Linked DNA regions of Homo sapiens: regions 1 and 2 are each linked to region 3. Evidence: promoter capture Hi-C in 16 types of primary human blood cells and fetal thymus (Javierre and others, 2016). All regions are on one chromosome and are shown on one strand. Each heading gives the region's core, a stretch centred on a gene start or on the middle of the fragment in contact. The rest is flanking DNA. Distances are from core to core; before and after follow the strand shown.

Region 1 (3,733 bases), core at 998-3,497, 110 kb after region 3:
TGTTTTGAGACAGGGTCTTGCTCTGTTGCCCAGATTTGAGTGCTGTGGTGCAATCACTGCTCACTGCAGCCTCAATCTCCAGGACTCAAGTGATCCTCTAGCCTCAGCCTCCCAAGTAGGTGGGACTATAGGCATATACCACCACACCAGCTAATTTTATTTTTGAAAAGACCAGGTCTGGACATATTGTCCAGACTGGGCTAGAGTGATCCTCCTGCCATGGCCTCCCAAAGTGTTGGGATTACAGACATGAGCCACAGCACCTGGCCAAAATAACAGTATTTGTTGCCAATGGTAAAATTTAAGCTTTCAAGCAAAAAAGAGTTTCGGAAAACCTGTATCCATCAACATAAGCCTGACAGTCTTTCAATACTCAGAGACTTTTCTAACAGCTATGGTGAATGTGACTTTGATACTGTATAACAAAATGTACCAACATCTGGAACATCTGCATGGCTCTGCCTGGCTCAGTGAACAGGTCCTTTCCAAATCACCAACACCTTACAAATGTATGCACTGGTAAAGGATCCAGTCGGAGTACAAGATAAAGTGACTTTTTTTTTTTTTTTTTGATACAGAGTCTCACCCTGTCGCCCAGGCGGGAGTGCAGTGGCGCAATCTGGGCTCACTGCAAACTCCACCTCCCAGGTTCAAGTGATTCTATGGCTTCAGCCTCCCAAGTAGCTGGGACTACAGGGGCCCACCACCATGCCCAGCTAGTTTTTGTGTTTTTAGTAGAGATGGGGCTTTGCCATGTTAGCCAGGCTGGTCTCAGACTACTGACCTCAGGTAATCCGCCCGCCTTGGCCTCCCAAAGTCCTGGGGTTACAGGAGTGAGCCACCGCGCCCAGCCAAATGATGAACTCTAATGTAAAAGTATGAAGAGTTTATTGATAAGGTTTTAGGTTTCACATTGCAACTAACCTTCATAGAAACTACTGCTTATTGAGTTTTGGTATAGAATCAAATATGAATATCCAGAATTATTTGATTACTCCTCCCATTTCCAACTATTTATCTGTGCAAGGATTGAGCTGCTCCATAAAAGTCAACCAAAGCAACACATTCCAAGAGTGGAGACAGATGCAGGTATGAGAATCCAGCTGTGTTCTATTAAGCCAGACATTTAGAAGGCTCCAAAAATGTGAGTACACAGAAGGCTCCAAAAATGTGAGTATACATGAAAGACAGGAGAAGAATGTGCAGAACAAAGGGAGGTGACGGCCCCCCTAGCCCTGAACTGGAAGGCCATGCTTAACCAGAGACTCATCAACCGTGGAGCAGCCACATACTTGAGCTCCTTCAGAAGGTCCTGATCAAGACGGAAAATCACATAAATCATGACGTGGGGAAACTTCGAAGAACATTCGACTTACACAAAAGAAGTCTTAGACGTACATACAGCTGCCATTAGGTTCTATGAAAATGATGCAATCACACTCATTTCATGCCCGGGTGTGCAGGTCTAATCAGCATGATGTAAAAGCAACCAGGCGACAAATACTCTCCTGAACCTTCCAGGGGAAGCTGGAAGCCAGAGTGTGATCCTGGAAAGACATTCAGAGTCTGCTTTGTACGTTCTAAGCTTCCAGGGAGACTCCTTAAAATTGTGAAGTCTTTCCAGAACACTAAGCTTAATTTTTCTTTTTTTTTTTTTGGAGACAGTCTCTCTCTGTCGCCCAGGCTGGAGGAGTGCAGTGGCATGATCTCAGCTCAATGCAACCTCCGCCTCCCTGGTTCAAGCAATTCTCCTGCCTCAGCCTCCCAAGTAGCTAGGATTACAGGTATGTGCCGCCACACCCGTTTTGTATTTTTAGTAGACATGGGGTTTTGCCACGTTGGTCAGGGTGGTCTCAAACTTCTGGCCACAAGTGATCCGCCTGCTTCGGCCTTCCAAAGTGCTGGGATAACAGGCATGAACCACTGCACCCAGCCACAAAGCTTAATTTCTAATAGAAACATAAATTGAAGGCTGGGTACTGTGGCTCACACAATGAGCCTTGGGAGGCTGAGGCAGGAAGATCCCTTGAGCCCAGGGGTTTGAGACTAGCCTGGGCAACATAGAGACACTCTGTCTCTACAAAAAAATACAAAAATTAGCTGGGCATGGTGGCGCACCCTGTAATCCCAGCTACTTGGGAGGCTGAGGTGGGAGGATGGCTTGAGCCTGGGAAGTCGAGGCTGCACTGAGCTATGATCCTGCCACTGCACTCCAGCCTGGGTGACAGAAGGAGAGCCTATTTCATAAATAAATACATGTTTCTAACTCATATGTGGGGAAAACGAGGCTCAGAGAGGTGAAGAAACTTACTTCAGATCACACAACTAACACATGGCTGAACTGATGAAACTCTGGTCTGCCTTATTCCAAAGCCAGGGCTTTTACATGAACCGTCATGCAGAGACCTCTTAGCAAATCCAAATATTTCTGGTAACACTTTTCATAGAGGATAATGGTTTGGAACTAAGCAATGGAACACTTGGAGTGAAGAAGGATAACAAACCTAAACGACTTGACATTTGACATGTAAACAGCATTTTAAAATAAGCTTTTCAATAGCTTTACAGGCCCTAGCATCAGTGAAAACTAGCTGTAGTTTTTATACACTGCTTTCCTTCCTATTACATACAAATCTTAAAATATGCTCAGAGACAGGAAGTAGAATGGTGGTTGCCAGGGACCTGGGGGAAGGAGGGCAATAGGGAATTACTATTCAAAGGGGACAGGGTTTTAGTTTTACAAGCTGTAAGAGTTAAGGAGCTGGATAGTGGTGATGGTTATACATTACGAATACACTCAATATCCCTGAAATGTATACTGAAAAATGGGTAAAGTGGCACATTTTATGTTATGTATATTTTACCACCATAAAAATTTTGGATAAAAATATGCTCAGAAATTTAGACAGACATGCTAAGTTTAAAGATTCAAAGGTTAGAATTCTAAACTCCTAGGCTGGGCGTGGTAGCTCATGCCTGTAATCCCAACACTTTGGGAGGCTGAGGCGGGAGGATCACTTGAGTCCAAGAGTTCAAGACCAGCCTGGGCAACATAGTGAAACCCATCTCTATTTAAAAAAGAATTCTAAACTCCCTAACTGAATCCTGATAAAGAATAAATTTGGAGTTTTGCCAGTTTTTAGATGGCACCATTTCAGCCACCTCAATTCTTGCCACCTCCAATTTCCACCCTAATTCTCAGGATCGGTGGTTTTCCACTAAGCACTCATAGCTTTGTTGCAATTAGAAATATAAAATCAGTATTACTCTGCACTTTACTGCCAATGGTAGATGAGAAACTGGAACCTCAAAAAGATAATTTAGCAAACTGCAAAACAAAGTCCATTCAAGATCTGGTACAATCAACTCTTGATCATTTGGAATTTTGTTTTGATTTGCTTGCTGAACAATGCAGTCCCTGGTTCTCTCCCTGGCTGCTGGGGACATGCCCTTACAGGCTCGGGGGAAAAAAGCAGTGGTTCAATACTGTTTCCTGACAACTGCACTGGTTATTAAACACAACTACGAAATAAACTTAGGAAGATGTATAACTACCAAACTATGTTTTATGATGATAACTGTTCATTTTAGGCCTACCATTTCTTTCACCTGTGACCCAAGTAATTCAGAGGTGAGATGTACGAGCCTGTCTGAGGCATTTTAGACAAGGGAGAAGGTGCCTACACAAGTACCAAACAATGCAGTGTTAAAACTGCTTTCCATAGGTGGCAAT
Region 2 (3,388 bases), core at 556-3,055, 84 kb before region 3:
ATCTTCCTGCCTCAGCCTCAAAAGCAGCTGGGACTCTATGGGCATGAGCCACCATGCCCAACTGAGTTAAAGTTCTTTGTATTTTTATTAAGAAATTTTTTTTTTGTTAACATTCTTTTTAAAGAACAGAGGCCACAGTGAATTTTGCATTATCCTGCCTTAGGAAGGATATCCAGCCCAAGGGGCTGGCTGGAGGCAGTGGCCAAGAAGGGTCCAGTTTAATGCTTAAAGCAGAAGAGGGTGCTCCCAGACCCATCTTTCAACAAAAAACTCTTAGAGGCTCCATTCTCCAAAAAACCACCTTGATCACGTTGATGGTCATAGATATGAAAATGATATATTTTCAAGCTTTAAATCTATTACAAGCTTTAAACATTTTGTTTCTGAAGGTATCCTTTAGTTCAATAAACTTATTGTTTTGTTTTTTGGTTTTTGTTTTTTTCGAGATGGAGTCTCACTCTCTTGCCCAGGCTGGAGTGTAGTGGCACCATCTCGGCTCACTGCAACCTCCACCTCCCCGGTTCAAATGATTCTCCTGTCTCAGCCTCCCAAGTAGCTGGGACTACAGGCGTGCACCACCCCGCTCAGTTAATTTTTGTATTTTTAATAGAGACAGGGTTTCACCATGTTGGCCAGTCTGGTCTTGAACTCCTGACCTCAGATGACCTCAGATGATTCACCAACCTTGGCCTCCCAAAGTGCTGGGATTACAGGTGTGAGCCACCACACCCAGCCCTGTTTTTGTGTTTTCATCAGGTTGAACCCTAGATCAAGATGCATTTGGAGGGCTCCGGCCGGTCCGCCGTGACTGGGTCAGTTTGTGCGTTCAGTCTTCATGCACATGAGTGTGTACCGTACAAGCACATGGTCACTGAGCAATGGCCAGTGTGTGCAAATGGACCCTGTGTGTCTCTGGACACCTGCACACATGCACACAGCCACTTGTGCACGGAGACCAACATGCAGAAACTGACCACTGCTCCTTCTACATCTACATACTGTTTATGGGGTGCTTTTCCAGTCATCACTTGCTGCCTGTTTTTGCTTGCTCTCAGAGGGACTGCTGGGGGGCCGGCTGGCTGTTCGCATGTGAGTGCCTGCACAGAGTGCTGGGTCCCAGGCGTGCATGGTAAGCCTGGAGGGGACTGTGGGGCCTGGAGCAGGGACTCAGAACCATGCCCTAGGAGTCTGGAAGCCTCACCCACAAGCAGAGCTGTTCCATGGCTCCAGGACCCATTATAACACCATTCCCTGGGGACACCTCCACTCCCTCAAAAGCCCCACCCCTTCCTCAGCCCCAGGTCCTTCAGCCCAGCCCCCTCCTGCACCCATGTTTCAGGCTCTCTGGGCCAGAGAAACCGGGAAGAGATCTGCAGTTCCTGACCTCCTTCCTCTCCCCAGCCTCCTCAGCTGGGGAGACAGGAGACATGGATCAGTGGTTTCTAGGTCTGCCTACATAGAGACAGGACATTCCCAGGAACTCCAACACTTTGTCATGGCAATGCATCGGGGAGACTGGGGGGTCTCACAGGACGTTCTCAGCTGCTGGGGCAATAAGCTGGGGAGCCAAGTCCCAAAAAACAAAGACCACCCCCACCCCCAACTCCACCCCAATAAGCAACACTGAGCCAGGGAACATAAGCACATTTCTTTTTGTTTTGTTTTTGAGGCGGAGTCTCACTCTGTCACCCAGGCTGGAGTGCAGTGGCACGATCTCAGCTCACTGCAACCTCCACCTCCCAGGTTCAAGCGATTCTCCTGCCTCAGCCTCCCAAGTAGCTGGGATCACAGGCATGAGCCACCACGCCCAGCTAATTTTTATATTTTTAGTAGAGATGGGGTTTCACCATGTTGGCCAGGCTGGTCTCGAACTCCTGACCTCAGGCGATCCACCCTCCTTAGCCTCCCAAAGTGCTGGGATTACAGGCGTGAGCCACCGCACCCGGCCACATAAGCACATTTCTAAATCTTGACTTCCCTCCTCCAAGGGGATGCAAAAATAAAAAATAAAAATAAAAAAGATGATAGCAGCTAAAGAAAGAGAGTCAATAATGAAACAGAGAAGCCAGAGGGGGCATCAAAGGGCAAGGTGGCTGGCGGGCCAGGCGGGTGCGGTGGCGCGGTTACCCTGTTGTCCGCTAATTCTCGGAGCAGCCGCTCGGCCTGCGCCTTCTCCAGTAGCAGGCTCTGTTCCAGCTCCCCAATGCGCGCGTGCTCCAGCTGCGTCTGGGTCTGGTCCACCCAGGGTGGACACGGTGGGGGGGTGGGGGCGGGGACGCAGGGAGGGGGGCACAGGGAAGAAGAAGCCGGAGAGAGAGAGAAAGAGAGAGAGAGAGAGAGGAGGCGTCATCTTCCGTGAACAAGGCGAGGAGAGTAGATTCATGAGCCAGAATTGCTCAGCGAAAGAGAGGAAGTCTGGGGAGGCGAGGGGTGTGGGGCCTCATGCCCACCCCTTGCTGTGTCCCGGCTGGGTCAGTGTAGGGCGGTGGGGGGTGGGGGCCTGCAAGCCATCCTCCCTCGCTGGCCCCTGCTTGGGGTAGCAATGGGCACCTCGCTTTTCTGTCCCCCCCAACCCCCAACCAGCAGCCCTTGACCTTGAAGGTCCTCATCAAGGATCTGCTCCTGGGGAGGGGCCCATCCTGTTCCCGTTCCCCTGCAGGCTGTCACTGGTTGTAGGCAAAGCATCCTCCACACAGGAGACCCACAGGATGAGGAATAAATAAAGGACCCCGGGATTCCCGCTCGACTCCCCCCCCCCCCCAAGGCCTGTGCTAAAAGTGCAAGAACCCATAACACGCAAGATGTTTCCAAAATATACCCGACCCCTCACGATCCTCTTGGCCCCAGCCTCCTTGGTGGAGGCCGGGCTGTGCCTCCCACTCCCGGGCCCCATTGCTGCCCACCCCACCGGACCCCACAGAGGACGCCTGGTCTCCACAAATCACAAGGGCACTTTTGTCCCAGCTCGACAATATCTGCTTCATCTGCTGACAAAGGCCAGCATTCTCAGGGTGTCAAGACTGGCTTTTGCATTTCACAGAACAGATCTTGGAAGGGAAGCTGGGAGGGTGAGGACATTGGGAGCAGTTTGGAGACCCAAGTTCATCTTAGGGAGAAGCCAGAGGGTCCTCTTTATACTCCAGGAGAGAAGGGGTTAAAGCAGCTGCAGGGCAGTTCTGAAGGGGCGGGGCTTAGCAAAACAGCCTCTAGGTGTGAAACCTGTAATAAAACCCCGGAAGCTTGTCTATTGGTGAAGGTGTAAACGGACATCACCTGATTAGAAATACTCCTGCAATTCATTAAGAGACATTGAGATGATTATGTCCTTTGGCCTATTTTATTTCTTGAATTTTCCTTAAGGAACAACAAAAAAAGTTCTCTCTCTCCC
Region 3 (3,304 bases), core at 657-3,156:
CTTCCCAGCCTGCACGGTGCTGAGGGCTGGAGTTTGCAGGTGCACACAGGTGTGTGTGGAGGAGGCTCCTCCCAGGCGCCTCCACCTGCCTCTTCTGCCTTTGGAGCCCCTCTCCATCTCCACCGCCTCCACCTGTCCTGAAGCCAGAATCCCATCATTCCCCCGCAAGGCACTGCAGACAAGAATGCATCCTGTGCTCAACGCAGGTCTAAGTTCCTTAAATCCTAAGCTGTTTCTCTAACCCAATAGCCTCCTTTTCTGACTCCAAGCCCTTATTCACGCTATTTCTCCTGCACGAAACCCCCTTCAGGCAACCTGGCAGCAAACTTCTGCAAGATGCTCTATGAAGCTTCCTGGTCTGCCCCATCCTCCAGGGGACCCCCTCTATGCCCCCAGCTTCCCCACTAATGCACTCATCAACCCCCGGGGCTGCACTTTTTGGGGACACCGAGGCTGCTGTCCTGTGGACCAGCCAGCCCCTAGAAGTGCCAGGCCAGGTAACAGCAGCTGAATGAAGGGCTTATTGTTTACATTTACAACCGAAAGGGAAGAGGCTTCTGAAGCACACACGTGGTGCTCCCCGCACCCTCCTCCTCCTCTGCCCACAGCCCTAGGCCACCCCACCCACCTCCCTCAGGCATCGCGCAAGAGTGACGGCAGACCCCCTCATCCCAGACCCCCACTTCTCACCCAGAAGTGAGAGGAGGGGTCTCAGACGTTGGGGGACACACTGCTGGGTGGGTGATTTCCCCCCAAGGTGCTCCCTCTGCCCGTCCTTCCCAGGGTGGGGCTGGGGCCTGCGTGGCAGTGCCCAGTGGGCACCCGCTCGGCCCAAGCTCTGCCTGAAAGGTCCAAACGGGCGGGCCCTGAAGGTTCAGCCAAGCATCCTCCGCGGCCGCCGCCCCTCCCCGGGAGGAGGGCAGAAAATCTGCTGCCTCACCAGCCACCAGCGCCAGCTTGGGGGGACACCCCCTGAGAGAAGCCGCCCGCCTCAATCTCCTCCTACCCCACCTCAGCCAAGCACTTCAACCAAGTTTTGCAAAGGCCATCGGCCAGGCGACCCCAGAGGGTGTAGCAGGGAGGAGAGGGGGGCAGTCCCTGTTCTCCCAGACCCCAGGTTTGGAGATGGGGGCTGCATGGCCGCGCCCACCAGGCTGTGCTCCCCAGGCTCTGTGAGCCCAGAGAGCCCTGCGGCGCGTCCAGCCGTCTTGCTCTGCCCTTGGAAGGGGGTACGGGCGACCCTCCAACAGAAGGGCCAAACCCCCGTCCGAGGGTAGGGACCCCGATGAGGCTGGTGATGCCTTCAACAGGGGGACCCGCAGCCCGGGAATAGCCCCCAACCCTGGCACCCCAAGCAGTGCCCCCTCCTCTCCTACAAGCAACGGGGAAGTTGGGGCACACCCCAGCCAGCTCCCGCCCACGCCCACCGGCCGGCCTCGAACCCTCCCGCCCCCGCCCACGCCCCGACAATGCCTCCGGGCCCGCAGCCCCGCTTTCGGCCAGGCCGCCGCCCCCCGCATCTCTCCGTCCTTTGTTGCCCGCGCGACCCCCTCCCTCGGCCCCTCCAGCAGCCCCTACCTTCGTCCTTCCAGCATCAGGCTAAGCGGCGGGAGGCCCGGAGAGCCCCGGCCTCCTCCTCTCGGGCCCGGGCGCGCTGGGGGGCGAGGATGCTGCGGCCCCTCCCTGCGCGGCGCTGCCCACCGGCTGCACCCCCTCCTGGCGCCGGGGATCCCCGCGATAGGTGCTCAGGGCCCGGGCCTCGCGCCACGTCTCTGGGAAGGCGGGAGGCGCGCACCGAGGCCGCCCAGCAGCCGCCTGCGCGCCCCGCGGCCGAGCCGAGCTGAGCGCCCGCGGAGCCAGCGGAGCCAGCGGAGCCAGCGGCCCGGCTCCGGGAGGGAACAAAAGGGGCCGGCGCAGGGGCGGGCGCGGGAGGGCGGGGCCTGGGGCGGGCGGGAGGGGGGGGCGGGTCAGGCGCGCGTGGGCGGCCTCGCGGTTTTCAGGCCTCAGTGCCTCGCGGAAAGCAGGCGGGCGGGCGGAAAACGCGGAGCAACCTCTTCCCCCTCTCCCCGCTCCATCTCCTTCCCTTCCCAGGCCGCAGCTGTCCTTTGTGGGGCGTCCAGGGTTCGCCCACATCCACCTCCGCGCTGGGCACCTGGTGGTGCTTACATCGCGTTTGGTGAAACGCATCCTCCAGCCATGCTATGCTTGCAAAGATGTCTCTGGTCATTGGGAAGGACGGCAGCTTGGGAAGGTGAGATGCTGTTGGCGCTGGACAGAAAGGATGAGGAGGGGGACAGTGCAGCTGGGGCGAAAACTTCAGGTCTGTGTTGGGGCCAGCGTGGGTGGGGAACTGTGGCACAGGGTCTCATGGTTATCAAGGATCTCATAGCCTGGGCAGTGTCTCACGCCTGTAATCCCAGCACTTCAGGAAGCCAAGGCGTGCAGATCGCCTGAGGCCAAGAGTCCGAGAACAACCTGGGCAACGTAACCTTCGTCTCTACAAAAAATACAAAAATTAGCTGGGCGCGCGCCTGCGGTCCCAGCTACTGGGGAGGCTGGGGTGGGAGGATCGCTGGAGCCCAGGAGGTCGAGGCTGCAGTGAGTCATGATCAAGCCACGGCCCTTCAGCCTGGGTGACAGAGCGAGACTCCGTCCCAAAAGAAAAAAAAAAAAGGATCTCATGGTGATCAGCTTCCAAGATACAAATGAACCCTCCCCAGGACAGGATGCATGTACTGCTATTTCAGAGGAGTTGAGGCAGCTGCCAGGTCCCCTCCTGCGTGGAGAGGCAGATGCCAAGTGACAGCTCAGGAACTAAACAGTGACCAAGCCCCAGCCCCTGTCCATGCCCAGGCTGCGGTTGGCTTCTGTGGCTTGGTTTCCCTCTGTCCCCCCTTGATAAGCTCGCCTGGATGCCTTTGACCTAGCTGGCCGTTCTACCAGTCCTGCCCTGCCCCCTTTCTCTGTTTGACAAATCATATTCCCCCTTCAAAGCACAGCTTAAATGTCCCTGCTTTTCCCTTGAGTGCAGGAATGTGGGTGTTGGGGGAGGTTGTGGTCTGTATGGTGAGACCACTGTTCTGCGGGAGAGAAGTGCCACATACGATCTTGTTCCTATCCCCTAAGGGACCCAGTGCAATGCTTGGCAGAGGGTAGACATCCAGTAATATTTGTTGAATGAATGAATGAACTTACTAAGTTAACATTACCACCCCTCAACTGTCTTGGTATCCATAATCTTTGAGAAGTGAGTGAACCTTTTTTTAGAGAAGGGGTCTCACTCTGTCACCCAGGCTGGAGTGCA

Evidence for each region. Contacts are between HindIII fragments. The CHiCAGO score rates a contact against its expected background, and 5 or more counts as called.
Region 1: a contact is called between a fragment that was not itself captured here and the fragment with the promoter of CLIP2 in region 3, in 4 of 17 cell types (total B cells, naive B cells, fetal thymus and 1 more). The highest score is 5.9, in total B cells.
Region 2: a contact is called between a fragment that was not itself captured here and the fragment with the promoter of CLIP2 in region 3, in 3 of 17 cell types (M0 macrophages, M1 macrophages and megakaryocytes). The highest score is 6.9, in M0 macrophages.

What each region holds. Positions count from the first base shown.
Region 1 is chr7:74,176,470-74,180,202 of GRCh38, reverse strand. All of the region lies in intron 1 of EIF4H (eukaryotic translation initiation factor 4H), which reads right to left. Among named protein-coding and RNA genes, the nearest start is that of EIF4H, 4.0 kb to the right of the region's middle. RefSeq lists enhancers at 1-254, 255-755. The HindIII fragment of the contact is 608 bases long and covers 1,944-2,551 here.
Region 2 is chr7:74,371,776-74,375,163 of GRCh38, reverse strand. It overlaps CLIP2 (CAP-Gly domain containing linker protein 2), which reads right to left. Exons shown (of 17, transcript NM_003388.5): 9 at 2,128-2,232. Among named protein-coding and RNA genes, the nearest start is that of GTF2IRD1, 80 kb to the left of the region's middle. RefSeq lists an enhancer at 2,013-3,011. The HindIII fragment of the contact is 2,873 bases long and covers 369-3,241 here.
Region 3 is chr7:74,288,009-74,291,312 of GRCh38, reverse strand. CLIP2 (CAP-Gly domain containing linker protein 2) reads right to left here and starts at 1,906. Exons shown (of 17, transcript NM_003388.5): 1 at 1,579-1,906. It overlaps LOC107986742 (a long non-coding RNA gene), which reads left to right and starts at 2,006. Exons shown (of 2, transcript XR_001745024.2): 1 at 2,006-2,251. RefSeq lists enhancers at 264-907, 908-1,552 and silencers at 1,428-1,497, 1,518-1,987. The HindIII fragment of the contact is 3,709 bases long and covers 352-3,304 here.